Regions from separate parts of the Homo sapiens genome. Here region 2 is linked to region 1. Evidence: promoter capture Hi-C in 16 types of primary human blood cells and fetal thymus (Javierre and others, 2016). All regions are on one chromosome and are shown on one strand. Each heading gives the region's core, a stretch centred on a gene start or on the middle of the fragment in contact. The rest is flanking DNA. Distances are from core to core; before and after follow the strand shown.

Region 1 (7,210 bases), core at 787-3,286:
CTCAAAAAAAAAAAAATCCTTCTACTTAGAATACCTTACCCCCACCCCTAATCACCATATTTGTAAATTCAGTTCATCCTTTTAGTCTCTAGTCAAATCCCACCTTCCTAAAGCCTTTCCGGGTACCCCCATAAGAAAGTAATCTTTTGTCCACTCAAAGAACCTTCTGCTCCTAGCTTGACATTCACCACTTTCTATATTTAATTATGTTATTTGTACATATACCTTAGCAGCCCTGTTAGACTACTAGTATCCTAGGGGCAGAGATTATGCACCGGACATCTTTGTAGCCCAGTATATGCGCACAGTAGACACTCAAATTTCTCAGTGTTTACTGATCAAACAAATGCAAGAAACAAGCAGAAACAAGGAATCTAGATTAAGAAGGAGGATGGTTCCAAGGGTGTCTCTATCACTCCTTGAAGCCATCAGCAGTACACCTGGTGTTAGGAGTTACTCACCCATGAAAGGGTCAACATGTCTCTTCTTAACCTTGGTCTCAGAGATTGCTGCATAGTAGGCACAGGTCATCTTAATGAGCCAGGCAGCCCGCATCACAGGCACTGTGTATTTGGCTAAGTACCCAAACACCTCTTCCTTCTTACTGAAAATGGGGACCTGGATGGACATTGCAAATAGTGAGGTCTCTATTATCCCCATGAGCTGACACCCATGTAGCTTAATATGGGAATAGGAGGGTACTTGGTACCCCATGCTCCCTCCTTGGCCTGAAGGACAGGAAACAGTACCTTACCTTTTTGGCTAGTTGCGTGAGTGGCTTGGTGCCAGCCAAGTCAGTGAACCAAGTGTTAATGGCACTCTGGGATCGTGCAGTCACCAGCCAGAAGTTATCCTTCTGGTTCACTTGGGGCTTCCTGCGACCAGTGTCAGGAAGGGTATTACAACGTAATTTCTCTGCAATAATGCTGCTGAAGTTGGAACTGATCTGAGGGAAGAAAAGTGTACCTCAGGGTGGGAAGAAGGGGCAGACAGGTGGTCCTGCCTTTTGCTGGGCAAATGCCAATGAGATAGTATTAGGTCATGAAGGCAAACTCAGCCACTTAGGTTGTCCCTATAAGTCTTCCCAACCCAGGGCCTTTGCTCCTTCTTAGATTCTTCCAGCCTTTTCCTTCAGCCTGGCAGAGTTGTCTCACCTTGGCAGGATTGAAGCTGACGTTCTTGGCACTGCCATGCTCATCCCCAGAGACAGCAGGCTGGTTATTGAAACCTTGTTTTACATTCAAGGCCGTCAGTTCATCCTGAGGCAGGAAAGCGGCGTTTAGTTGTTTTTTCCTTAGGGGAAGGGGGAAGGGGTGGGAGAGTAGGGCAGGAGAAAAGAAGGAACAAGGTGAAAGGGCAGGAGGAGGGTTCCGTGTAGAACAGATCGTTACTTAAAGCTGGGCCCTTACGTTCACTTGGACCCCACCCTCACTCCCATGGTCACTAGGATTCCCAGCCACCCAGCGCGCCCTCAAACATCACTCTTCTCTTGCGAACAGCCGAGCAGCCGTACCCCACCAAGCTGTCTCAGACAACTTTCTGAGGTGTGTGTGGAGGAGGGCGCCTCTGGTGCGGCCCCTACACCACCCCCTATTCATACCTTGGAACCCCCCACCGCCCCCCGTCCTGCCCTCCCACGCCAGCCCACTTTACTCTTCCCCCTTTCGGGACTTTTGCTCTCACCGAACCGCCCCGCCCCCCATTCCCAGCCGTCAGTGCCTCCTCCTAGGCTGACCGCGTGCCCCCGGCCCCTCCAGAGCCCCGATTTTCGAACGCACCTCCTTCTGTTTGGGGTCCTGAGGGTAAACATCGGGAGGCCCCAGCCGCGGCCGCTTCAGGGGCCGGTGTTCGTAGCTCAAGATCCCGAAGGCCGCCATCTTGCCCAGCCCGTAGCGCCGGAGGCACCAGCAGGGCCAGGCTGACTGGGGGAACGGGAAGGGGGAGAGGGAGCCGAAAAGGGGGGCGGTGGTTGAGAGGACGGCGGCCGAGAGACAACAAGGGGGCACGTTAGAAACTCTCGACCATTGCCGGAAACTACCGAGGGAAGCCGAGGTACGCCGGGAACCATCGGACAATACCGACTGCAGAGGAGGTGGGGCCTGGCCCGGTGGGGGCGGAGCTCTGTGCCCCGGGAGTTTTTCGGCGGTGGCGGCAGCAAGTCGATTTCACTCAGCAAAAATCTATGAAACGTTCCGGAGGCGCAGAATGAGCTGGGGATGCAAACCAGGGAAGAAGGAGGCCTCTGTGGTGCTGAGTTCTGACTGGACTTCGGTTCCCATAGCCTAGCTCGGTTTTGGCCTAGAAAAGTCTTCAATAATATTTGCATTGGTTAGGAACTCCGTCTATTACAGATCAGTTCGTTTCTTAGTTCCGGCATCTGAAAAATAGGTGCGCTAACACCTCCTTCAAGGGGCTATTGTGAACATTAGAAACTATGTATGCATGAGAAAGAACCTATTAAACCCTGAAAGGCTGGCTCTAATCCCTCAAGGTCTACCATCGAGTTGTCTAACCTTTTCTTGTTTGTTTTTCTGCCCAAGGGTACCGCATACTAACGTTTTTGATTCACAAACCCTTAAAGGTGCTGATGAAAGCTATGGACCTTCTTCCCAGAAATAATAATAATAATAATAATAATATGCATATATTGACATGCAAAATGTTGCTTTAGATTCTTAGATCCCCTGAAGTTCATCCATGTATCCCCTAAGGGTCCATGAACTCCAGGTTAAGAACCCTTGGTCTAGCTAAAGAGGCACCTATTGTGTCAGATGCTTTTCAGACACTATCTCCTTTAATCTGCTCACAGCCTCATGAGTTAGGGATTATTATTGGCTCGATTTTGCGGATGGAGGAAGCTGGTTTTCAAAGTGTGAAAATTCACTTATCCAATATTATACAGCTACTGAGTAACAGAGCTGGCACTAAGATTCTGAATTCCAGAGCCAATATCCTATTGTCGTATTGCTATTTGTTTATTTTGAGGCAGGTTCTCCCTCTGTCGCCTAGGCTGGAGTGCAGTGGCGCTATCACGGCTCACTGCAGCATCAACCTTCTGGACTCCAGCGATCCTCCCGCCTCAGCCTCCCAGTAGCCTGGACTACAGGCGTGCGCCACTGTGCCGGCCTTGTATTGCCTTTTAGAGAAAAGACAGCCAGTGTGCTGTAACAAAAGTAACAAATAACAATAAACAAAAATAACACCAGTAACAAAAATAACAAAATGCTATTGAATCACAATGGAAAGAAGAAGTAATTCAAGGCGGGGAGTGGTGGCTCACGTCCGTAATCCCAGCACTTTGGGAGGCCAAGGCAGGGAATCACCTGAGGTCAGGAGTTCAAGACCAGCCTGGCCAACGTGGTGAAATCCCATCTCTACTAAAAATACAAAAATTAGCTTGTGTGGTGGCAGGCGCCTGTAATGCCAGCTGCTCAGGAGGCTGAGGTAACATTTGAACTAACTCTGAAGGATATTTTTATTTTATTTTATTTTTTATTTTATTTATTGTTTTGAGACGGAGTCTCACTCTTGTTGCCCAGGCTGGAGTGCAGTGGCGTGATCTCGGTTCACTGCAACCTCCGCCTCCCAGGTTCAAGTGATTCTCTTGCCTCAGCCTCCCCAGTAGCTGGGATTACAGGCTTGCGCCATCATGCCTAGCTAATTTCTGTATTTTTAGTAGAGACGGGGTTTCTCCATGTTGGCCAGGCTGGTGTCAAACTCGTGACCTCAAGTGATCCGCCCACCTCGGCCTCCCAAAGTGCTGGGATTACAGGCGTGAGCCACCACGCTCAGCCTGAACGATATTTTATTTATTTATTTATTTATTTATTTATTTATTTATTTATTTTGAGACTGAGTTTCGCTCTTGTTGCCCAGGCTGGAGTGCAATGGCGCAATCTCGGCTTACTGCAACCTCTGCCTCCCTGGTTCAAGCGATTCTCCTGCCTCAGCCTCCCGAGTAGCTGGGATTACAGGCATGCACCACCATGCCCAGCTAAATATTTTTTTGTTGTTGTATTTTTAGTAGAGACGGGGTTTCTCTATGTTGGTCAGGCTGGTCTCGAACTCCCGACCTCAGGTGATCCACCTGCCTCCACCTCTCAAAGTGTTGGGATTACAGGCGTGAGCCACCAACCTGAAGGATATTTTTAAAAAGATAATTTTTCTTTTCTTTCTTTTTTTTTCTTTTTTTTTTTTTTTTGACAAGGTCTCACTCAGTGGCCCAGGCTAGACTGCAGTGGTGCAATCTCACTTCACTGCAACCTCTACCTCCTGGGCTCAAGCAAACCTCCCACCTCAGCCTCCCAAGTATCTAGGATCACAGGCGCTGGCCACCACACCCGGTTAATTTTTGCTTTTTTTTTTTTTTTTTTTTTTTGGTGGAGACAGGGTTTTGCTATGTTGCCCAGGCTGGACTTAAACTCCTGGTCTCTAGCGATCCACCCACCTCAGCCTCTGAAAGTGCTGGGATTACAGGCATGAGCCACAGCACCCAGCATAAAAGAATTTTTTAGAGCAGTTTTAGATTCACAGCAAAATTGAGAGGAAGGTATGGAGAATTCCCATATACTGTCTGCCCTCACACATAGATAAACTCCCCCATTGACATCCCCCACCAGAGTGGGCCAGGCATGGTGGCTCATGCCTGTAATCCCACCACTTTGGGAGGCCGAGATGGGTGGATTGCTTGAGCCCAGGAGTTCTAGACCAGCCTGGGCAACATGGTAGAACCTCTATCTCTCCAAAAGCAAAATAAAACATTAGCAGGGTTTAGGGGCGGGCGCCTGTAGTCCCAGCTACTCTGGAGGCCGAGGGGAGAGAATCACTCGATCTCAGGAGGTGGACGCTGCAGTAAGCCATGATGACCCCACTGCACTTCAGCCTGGGCAACAGAGTGAAACTCTGTCTCAAAACAAAACAAAACAAAACAAAACAACAACAACAACAACAACAACAACAACAAACCCACCAGAATGGTATATTCGTTAGAGTTGATGGACCTACCTTGAACATCATTACCCAAAGTTCATGGTTTACGTTAAAGTTCACTCTTGATGTTATTTTATACAGTCTGTGAGTTTGGACAAAGAATAACATGTGTCCACCATTGTAGTATCTTACAGAATATTTTCACTGACCTAAAAACTTTTTCTGCTCCACCTATTCATCCTTCCCTCTCCGACAACCCCTGGCAACCGTTGATCTTTTTACTGTCTCCATAGTTTCGCCCTTTCCAGAATGTCATATAGTTGGAATCCTATAGTAGGTGGCCTTTTCTGCATGGCTTCTTTCACTTAGTCATATGTATTTAAGTTTTCTCCCATGTCTCTTCACGGCCTTAATAGCTCATTTCTTTTTGCACCGAATAATATTTCACTTTCAGGATGTACCACAGTTTATCCATAAACCTACTGAAAGACACCTTCGTTGCTTCCAAGTTTGGGCAATTATGAATGAAACTGCTATAAACATCCGTCTGCAGGTTTTTATGTGAACACAAGTCTTCCACTCCTTTGTTTTTTTTTTTTTTTTTTTTTTTTTTGAGACGAAGTTTCGCTCTGTCGCCCAGGCTGGAGTGCAGTGGCGCGATCTCGACTCACTGCAAGCTCCACCTCCCGGGTTCACGCCATTCTCCTGCCTCAGCCTCCTGTGTAGCTGGGACTACAGGCACGCGCCACCATGCCCGGCTAATTTTTGTATTTTTAGTAGAGACGGGGTTTCACCGTGTTAGCCAGGATGGTCTCGATCTCCTGACCTCGTGATCCGCCCGTCTCAGCCTCCCAAAGTGCTGGGATTACAGGCGTGAGCCACCGCGCCCGGCCTCCACTCCTTTGTTAATACCAAGGAACATGATTGCTGAAAGAGTATGTTTAGTTTTATAGGAAACTGCCAAACCGTCTTCCCCAGTGGCTGTACCGTACCATTTTTGCATTTCCCCCAGCAACAAGTGAGAGTTGTTCCTGTTGCTCCACATCCTTGCCAGCATTTGGTGTAGTCCGTGTTCCGGATTTGGGCAATTTTTTTTTTTTTTTTTGAGACAGGGTCTCACTCTGTCACCCAGACTGGAGTGCAGTGGTGCAATCTCAGCTCACTGCAACCTCCGCCTCCCAGGCTCAAGCAGTTCTCCTGCCTTAGCCTCTCAAGTAGCTGGGATTACAGGAATGCGCCACTATTGCCTGGCTAATTTTTGTATTTTTTAGTAGAGACGGGGTTTCACCATGTAGGCCAGGCTGGTCTTGAACTCCTGACCTCAAATGATCCACTCACCTTGGCCTTCCAAAGTGCTGGGATTACAGGCATGAGCCACCATGCCCGGCCTCTTTTTTTTTTTTTTTTTTTTTTAAACAAGAGATGGGATCTTGCTGTGTTGCCCAGGCTGGTCTCCAACTCCTGGGCTCAAGCAACCCACTCGCCTCAGCCTCCCAAAGTGCTGGGATTTCAGGCAAGGTGTGAGCCACCTTGCCCAGCCCATTTTGGCTATTCTAATAGGCATGTAGCCCTGAAGGATTTATTTATTTTATTTATTTTATTTTTTAGGCAGAGTCTTGCTCTGTCACTCTGGCTGGAGTGCAGTGTGCGATCTCAGTTCACTGCAACCTCTGCCTCCTGGGTTCAAGTGATTCTTGTGCCTCAGCCACCTGAGTAGCTGGGACTACAGGTGAGTGCTACCAAACGTGGCTAATTTTTGTATTTTTGTAGAGATGGGGTTTTGCCTTCTGAAGGATTTTAGCCTACAGAAAGTTAGGAAGAGGCTAATTCCAGAGAAAGGAAATGCGTATGACATATCCAGTGTGGCTGGAATTGATCATTGGAGCTTGGGCTTTATTCTGAAGGCCATGAGTAGCTTTTGAAGACTTTTAAATTGGAGAATGCCCTCTGTAGTGGGTTGAATGTGGCCTCCAAAAAGATATGTTCACTTGGAACCTGTGGATGTCACCTTCTTTGACAAAAGGCTTTTAGCAGCTGTAATTAAGGCAAAGCTCCTAGGAGAGAACACCCTGGATTAGGGTGGGCCATAAATCCAATGACAGGTGTCCCTGTAAGAGAAGAGAAGGATAAAGGAGATGCAGAGAAGAAGAAGAGGTAATGCAAAGATGGAGGCAGAGATTGGAATGATGTGTCTACAAGCCAAGGAGCACCAAGGATCGACGGCAGCCACCAGAAGCTAGAAGAGAGGCATGGAACAACTTCTTCCTCAGCGCCTCCAGAA
Region 2 (7,632 bases), core at 1,597-4,096, 85 kb after region 1:
AAGGCTGTATAGCATTTCATTGTGAGAATGTAATATTATTTTATTTTATTTATTTTCGAGACAGACTCTCATTACATCACCCAGGCTGGAATGCAGTGGCACGATCTCAGCTCACTGCAACCTCTGCTTCCCAGGTTCAAGCAATTCTTGTGCCTCAGCCTCCCAAGTAGTTGGGATTAAAGGGATGTGCCACCATGCTCAGCTAATTTTTGTATTTTTAGTAGAGATGGGATTTTGCCATGTTGGTCAGGCTGGTCTTGAACTCCTGGCTTCAAATGATCCACCTGCCTTGGCCTCCCAAAGTGCTGGGATTACAGGCATGAGCCACTGTACCTGGCCTTGCTCAGCATAATGTTTTTGAGATTTATCCATGTTATTGTGTGTATCAAGTTTGTTCCTTTTCAGTGCTGAGTAGCATTCTATTGTATGACTATGCTAGTTTATCCATTCTGTTCTTTTTTTTTTTTTTTTTTTTTTTTTTTTGAGACAGAGTCTTGCTGTGTCTTGCCCAGGCTGGAGTGCAGTGGCATGATCTCGGCTCACTGTAGCCTCCACCTCCCAGATTCAAACGATTCTCCTGTCTCAGCCTCCTGAGTAGCTGGGACTACAGGTATGTGCTACCACACCCAGCTAATTTTGTACTTTTTAGTAGAGATGGGGTTTCACCATGTTGGCCAGGCTGGTCTCAAACTCCTGACCTTAGGTCCTGCCTTGGCCTCCCAAAGTGCTGGGATTACAGGCATGAGCCGCCGTAACCAGCGTATCCATTCTATTATTGATGGACATTTGGATTATTTACAGTTTTTGGCTACTATGAATAAAGCTGAAGTAAACATTCTGGTACAAGTCTTTTTATAAACATATGCTTCCTTTTTTTTTTTTTTTTTGTAAATACCTAGAAGTGGAATTGCTAGACTATAGGATAGATGTGTATTTAAATTTATAAGAAACTTCTAAGTAATTCTCTAAACAGGTTGTACCATTTTTTATTCCCACTAGCAATATATGAGAATTCTAGTAGTTTTTCATTCTCTCGAACACTTGGTATGGTCAGTCTTTTAACATTTTAGCCATTCTGGTGGGTGTGTAGTAGTATCTCATTGTAGTTTTTTTTTTTTTTTTTTCCAAAGATAGGATCCCAGGCTGGAGTGCAGTAGTACAAATAGCTGGGACTACAGGCCATGCCACCACACCCAGCTAATTTTTGCTTTGTTTTTTGTAGAGGCAGGGCTTCACCATGTTGCCCAGGCTGGTCTGGAACTCTTGGGCTCAAGTGATCCACCTGCCTCGGCCTCCCAAAATGCTCAGATTACAGGTGTGAGCCACTGTGCCTGGCTCATTGTAGTTTTAATATGCATTTCCCTGAGTATTAATGATGTCAAGCACTTTTTCATGTGCTTATTGACCATTCAAATATCTTTGCTAAATATCTATTCAAATCTTTTGTCCATTTTAAAGTTGGATTAAATCCATTTTTAAATGATTGATTTGTAAGAGTTCTTTATATATTCTGCTTACAAGTCCTTTGTCAGATATATGTTTTTCAAGTATTTTCTCTTAGTCTGTGCTTGCCTATTCATTTTCTTAATAGTAGTTTTTCATGAGAAGATTTTAAAATTCAGTGAATTCTAATTTATCATTTTTTTTTCTTTTATGACTATAGCTTTCTGTGTTCTAAAAGATCTTTGTTTATCCCTAAGTCCCAAAGATTCTCTTCTGGATTTTCTTCTAGAAGCTTTAGAGTTTTAGCATTTATATTATATGTTTAGTGTCATGATCCATCTTCAGTTGGTTTTTGGGTGTGATGTGGGGTTGGGGTTGAGGTTTATTTTTCCCAAATGAATATCCAGTTATTCTAGCACCATTTGTTGAAAAGACTTTCCTTTCCCCAATTCAACATTGCTTGATCAAAAATCAATGACTTTATATGTGCAAGTTTATTTCTGGGCTCTGTATTTTGTGCCATTGATCTATTTATCTATTAAGTACTGTAGTTTTATAGTAAGTCTTAATGTCAGGAATATAGGTCTTCCAACTTTGCTGTTGTTTTTCAAGATCGTTTTGGATATTTTAGATCCTTTCCATTTCCATATACATTTTAGAATCAGTTTGTCCATTTCTCTTTAAAAAACCTGGTAGTATTATGACTGCTCTTGTATTGAATCTATAGAAGAATTCTGGGAGGATTTACATCTTAACAATATTGTGTCTTCTAACTCATGATCATGGTATATCTATTTATTTCAGGTTTTTATTTGTTTTTTAAAGATGGAGTTTCACTCTGTCACCCAGGCTGGAGTGCAGTGGCATAACTATGGCTCACTGCAGCCTCAACCACCCGGGCTCAAGCGATCCTCCCACTTCAGCCTCCCAAGTAGCTGGGACCACAGGTGTGTGCCACCATGCCTGAACAAGTTTTTTTGGTAGAGATGGGGTTTCACTGTGTTGCCCAGGCTGGTCTTGAACTCCTGGGCTCAAGTGATCTGCCTGCCTCGACCTCCCAAAGTGCTGGGATTACAGGCATGAGCCACCATGCCCAGCCTATTTATTTCAGTCTTGTAAAATTCCTCTTAGCAATGTTATGTAGTTTTCAATGTAGAAGTTCCTGGATGGATTTTGCTGAATATTATCAAATGCCTTCTAGAAAGGTTGTATCAGTTTACCTTACCACCAATACTACATTTTCTTTTCTTTTCTTTCCTTCCTTCCTTTCTTTCTTTCTTCCTTCCTTCCTTCCTTCCTTTTTTTTTTTTGAGATGGAGTTTTGCACTTGTCCCCCACGCTGGAGTGCAATGGCATGATCTCAGCTCACTGCAACCCCCGCCTCCCCACTTCAAGCGATTCTGCTGCCTCAGCCTCCAGAGTAGCTGGGATTACAGGCGCCTGCCACCACGCCCAGGTAATTTTTTGTATTTTTAGTAGAGACGGGGTTTCACCATGTTGGCCAGGCTGGCCTCGAACTCCTGACCTCAGGTGATCCACCTGCCTTGGCCTCCCAAAGTGCTGGGATTACAGGTGTGAGCCACTGTGCTTGGTCTGTTTTCTTATACTCTCATCAACACTGGGTTTTATGTCTTTTTATTCTGTGCCAATCCTAATAGGTGAAAAATTATATATCAGTTTTTTTGTGGGCTTTTTTTTTTTTTGATGGAGTCTCACTCTGTGGTGGCCCAGGCTGGAGTGCAGTGGTGCGATCTTGGCTCACTGCAATCTCTGCCTCCTGTGTTCAAGTGATTCTCCTGCCTCAGCCTACTGAGTAGCTGGGATTACAGGTGCAGGCCACCACGCCCAGCTAATTTTTATATTTTTAGTAGAGATGGGGTTTTGCCATGTTGGCCAGGCTGGTCTCAAACTCCTGACCTTAGGTGATCTGCCCATCTCGGCCTCCCAAAATGCTGGAATTACAGGCCTGAGCCACCGTGCCAAACCTATATTTCAGTTTTATTGGCATTTCTTTTATTACTGGTGAGGTTTGCACATACTGTATTTATTGACTATTTGTATATAATTTATCATGAATTGACTGTTCTTTGTGCATTTGTCTATTGGGGTGTTCATCTTTTTCATGTTGATATGCAATGATTTGTAAAAGTTTTTTGTATGTTAGGGAAATATATATGTGTGTAACTAGAGAAGTAGGTAGTATTGCCTTTACAACATAAAGAGATTAAGGCTGAGAAAAGCTAAATGACTTGGTTCAAGATCATACAAATAATAAATGATAGAGCAAGGATTTGAATCCTGGTCTATGTGACACAAAATACCATGTTATTTCTATTACAGAAAGCCTATTTTTAATCTGTTAGTAGCTTTTCTAAGTCTTAAAAATTATTTAATATTATTGTCTCCTTTGCTAAAAGCCTTAGTTTTAGAATTTATCTCTTGCTGATGGCCTTGTTAGAACTTTAGAGAACATTTAGTATAGTTTTCTGTCTTTTTTAATCATTCAAAGCTTTTAAAAACTTCAAAATTATTTCAAACTTAAAGAAAAGTTACAGTAATATTACAAAGAACTTCCACTTACCCTTAACCCAGATTCATATATTTTTAACATGTTGCCACATTTGCTTTATCATTCTATCTCTATCTTTATCTATTTTTTCTCTGAATCAGAATAACCTGGAGACATAAGGCCCCTATACTCCTAAATACTTCAGCATATCTTTCCTGAGAACAGGGACATCCTCTTACAAAACCACAGCATAATGATCAAAATCAGGAAAATTAACATTGATGTAATACCACTGCTGTCCACATTCAGCTTTTACCTCTTGTCCTAATAATTTCCTTTATAGCATTTTTCCCCAGTCCAGAATACAGTCCAGGATTATACATTGAATTTAGTTGTCATGTCACTTTAATTGCCTTTAATTTGGAGTAGTTTCTCAGCTTTTCTTTGTCTTTCCTGACATTGACACTTTTGAAGAGTACAGGCCAGATATTTTGTATAATGTTCCTTAGTTTGGGTTTGTCTAATGTTTCCTCATGATTAGATTCAGATTATGCTTCTTTTTGTAGGAATATCACAGAAGTGATGTGTTCTCAGTGCATTGGCAACAGGAGGTACATGATATCACTTTGCCCCATTATTGGTGATATTAACTTTGACTACTTGGTTAAAGTAGGGTCTGCCAGGTTTCTCCACTCTAAAGTTACCATTTTTACCTTTGTAATAAATATGCAATTTGTGGGGGGACACTTTGAGACTGTATAAAATGTCCTATTCCATATCAAAGTCTCAGCCAATAGATTTTAACATTCATTGATTATTGCCTGAATCAGTTATTACTATTATATTTCAAAAATGGTGATTTTCTAAATACATCATTAGTTCTACACTTATTTGCTGGCATTCAATTGTAAAGAAGAGCTTTCCTTTTACCCTATGTATTGATTAATTAATTGATTATCAGTATGGACTCATGGATTCTTACTTATTACATGAGTTATAACGTTTTACTGTTTATTTTGATGCTCTAATTGGCCCAGATTTGGTCAGTGGGAGCTTCTTCAAGCTGGTTTCTGTGTCCATTGACATGCCTCCATCATTCTTTGGCACTTTCTTACTTTCTGGGACAACAGGAATATTTCAGGCTTATCATGTATTTTCCTGGCCCTAACCTTGGAATCAGCTATTTCTCCAAGGAAGCCTGGCTCCCTTAAGTGGGGAATGATATTTAGCAACCAGGATCTCTGTGCTGGGGTATACTTATTGCTACTGAGGTGTCATCACTTTGGGGCTCCTTTAGCTGAGAGACCTAGGATTTATCCCAGGCTTTTGAATCCCTTCCAATATCTCCACCAAGTGAGTTTAGATCTGTGCTTGAATACTTCATTATTTGAGGAAATTGCTCGAGAGACAGTCTCCTTCATTATTGGGCAACCCTTTATATTTGAAAACAGTGGCCATTGGTTTCCTCTACTAAGTCTTGTCTTCTCTGTGCTAAACATCTGCAGTTCCTTTACTGCCATTACTCTCATGGCAGAGTTTGAAGATCTCCTCATCATTCTGGTTATTCTGTTCTGTTCATACTTCAGCTCATGAATATCTCTCTTTAAAGATTGGCATCTAGAATGAAATGTACTATTTCAGGTACATGTTCTGATCAGTACAGAAGAGTGGGTTAGTGATTTTCTTTGTTCTAGACCCTATGCTACTACTCATGCAGGCCAAAATTGTTAGCTTTTTTTTCTTTTCTTTTCTTGTTTTTTTTTTTTTTGACAGCCACATTGATCACTCTGTTGAATTATGTTGAGCCTATAGTTAGTTGAAATCACTAAGACTAAAAACTCAACTATATTTATCCATTTGGTACTTAAATGCTTATGTTTTAGGACCTAGTATGAGGCTTTAATTTGATCTCTGTCTTTTCAGCCTAAGAAATTTAGCTTATCATTCCTGCTTGTCAAACTTCTTTTGACTCCTGAATGTCATCCAGTTGTACTAGCTTCTTTTCCAGTTTATCATCTGCAAATTTGATTAGTATGCCACTAAGTGTCTTCATACAAATGACTATCTTAAAATATCAAAAAAGGCAGAGCGGAGCTCAAATATTTGCAGCCTGACTAGACACCTTTCCTATGTTGAAATCAATCCATCAAATAAGGGATTGCTACTGTTCATCTACTTTCACCTGCTGTTGTATATAGGATCTGACCCAACAGACCTGTCACAATACTACCTTGAACCAATTTCTAGTGTTTTCCTGGGATTAGTGTTTCAAAGTTATAGGGAAGCTTGTTTATTGTAAAATGGGGACCTTTCACACAGTCCAAACGTGCTATTCTTGAGTGGAGATCGTCCTGGTGTGGCTTGGTCTGTGTCCTCCTTGGTGCCAGAGGCAAAGAGAAATGTTTGAGGCAGCCAAGGCTATTCTACCTTAATCAGAATCTTCATCAAATGTAAGGAACAGAGGTTATCTAGTTCAGACTTCTAAAATCTTACTGATAAAACCTATTAATGTGTCCGTTTCTTTTAATGCTCTATCTGTCAACAAGTGCTCCTGCACATTATTTAAAAAGGAGGAAAGGTGCCTTATAGAAAGGGGCTCTCAGAATTTGCAAGTAAGGATGGGAAAAGGTCACTGTCTGAAAATGAAGTAAAATGAAACAAAATGGATAAAAACAGCTATCTGAAGGCATACATCTGCAGAATTAATCTACCCTGAGAGAGCTAGGTTTTCTTTTAATGAGACTGGAATGTTTTTTAGGTTTCCATCAAAGACCAGAGTATATGGCCTCAGGAAAAAGAGAATGAAATGTAATAATGTAAAGAAATCCTAACTTACTCAACTGCCTTATAAATTGGCCATCTGAAATAGTGATCTATGAATAGAAGGGTAAAGCCTGGTTATCTGCAAGGAGCCTGGAAAGGGGAAGAATAACATTTTATTTCTTTAGCCTTTTCGGTTTTTTTTTTCCGGTTGTTGTTTAATTACATAGGTAACATGTGAGTACATTCTCCTTATAAAAATATTTAAACATTACAGCTAAGAGTAAGTTTCTTCTCACTAAACTTCTTGTCCCCAATTCTGGTTAGTCAGGCTTTTTATAAAAATATCTTGAGTCAAGAAAGATAGTTTATCAGGCTTATATAATCTGATGTTAATATATCCTTTGTGGATATAAACTCCGTTTGTTTTATTTATTTTTGTTTGTTTTCTGTTTTTTTTAAAAAACATTTTTTCCCTTTTTAAAAAAAAATGTGCTCACAAATCAACCTTTTAATATATAGACTGGTCTGCTGAATTTGTCTGCCTGCCTCACTGGAGTAACTACCTTGTACAAAGATATTGCCTACCTAGGAGGTTGTTCTTGTATAGTCAGCAACTAAGCCTCCTGATCTCAAACAGCTCTCTGACTTCTGTATGTACAGTGGGGGATACAGGATTCAAAGACTTTTTTTTTCTTTTTTTCTTTTTGTTGAGACAGGGTCTCACTCTGTCACCCAGGCTGGAGTGCTGTGGCACAATCTTGGCTCACTGCAACCTCCACTTCCCAGGCTCAAGTGATCCTCCCACCTCAGCCTCCCGAATAGCTGGGACCACAGGTGAGCACCACCATACCTGCCTGATTTTTTTCTATTTTTTATAGAGATGGGATTTTACCACGTTGCTCACGCTGCTCTCGAAT

Evidence for each region. The method cuts DNA at HindIII sites, captures the fragments that hold promoters and counts their contacts. A CHiCAGO score of 5 or more calls a contact.
Region 2: a fragment that was not itself captured here is called in contact with the fragment with the promoter of MED12 in region 1 in 1 of 17 cell types (neutrophils); the score reaches 5.7 in neutrophils.

The regions. Positions count from the first base shown.
Region 1 is chrX:71,113,422-71,120,631 of GRCh38, reverse strand. MED12 (mediator complex subunit 12) reads right to left here and starts at 2,036. Exons shown (of 45, transcript NM_005120.3): 1 at 1,779-2,036; 2 at 1,155-1,259; 3 at 755-946; 4 at 462-618. The coding sequence starts at 1,877. The HindIII fragment of the contact is 19,646 bases long and covers 1-7,210 here.
Region 2 is chrX:71,029,226-71,036,857 of GRCh38, reverse strand. No RefSeq gene overlaps it. Among named protein-coding and RNA genes, the nearest start is that of SNX12, 35 kb to the left of the region's middle. The HindIII fragment of the contact is 2,217 bases long and covers 1,738-3,954 here.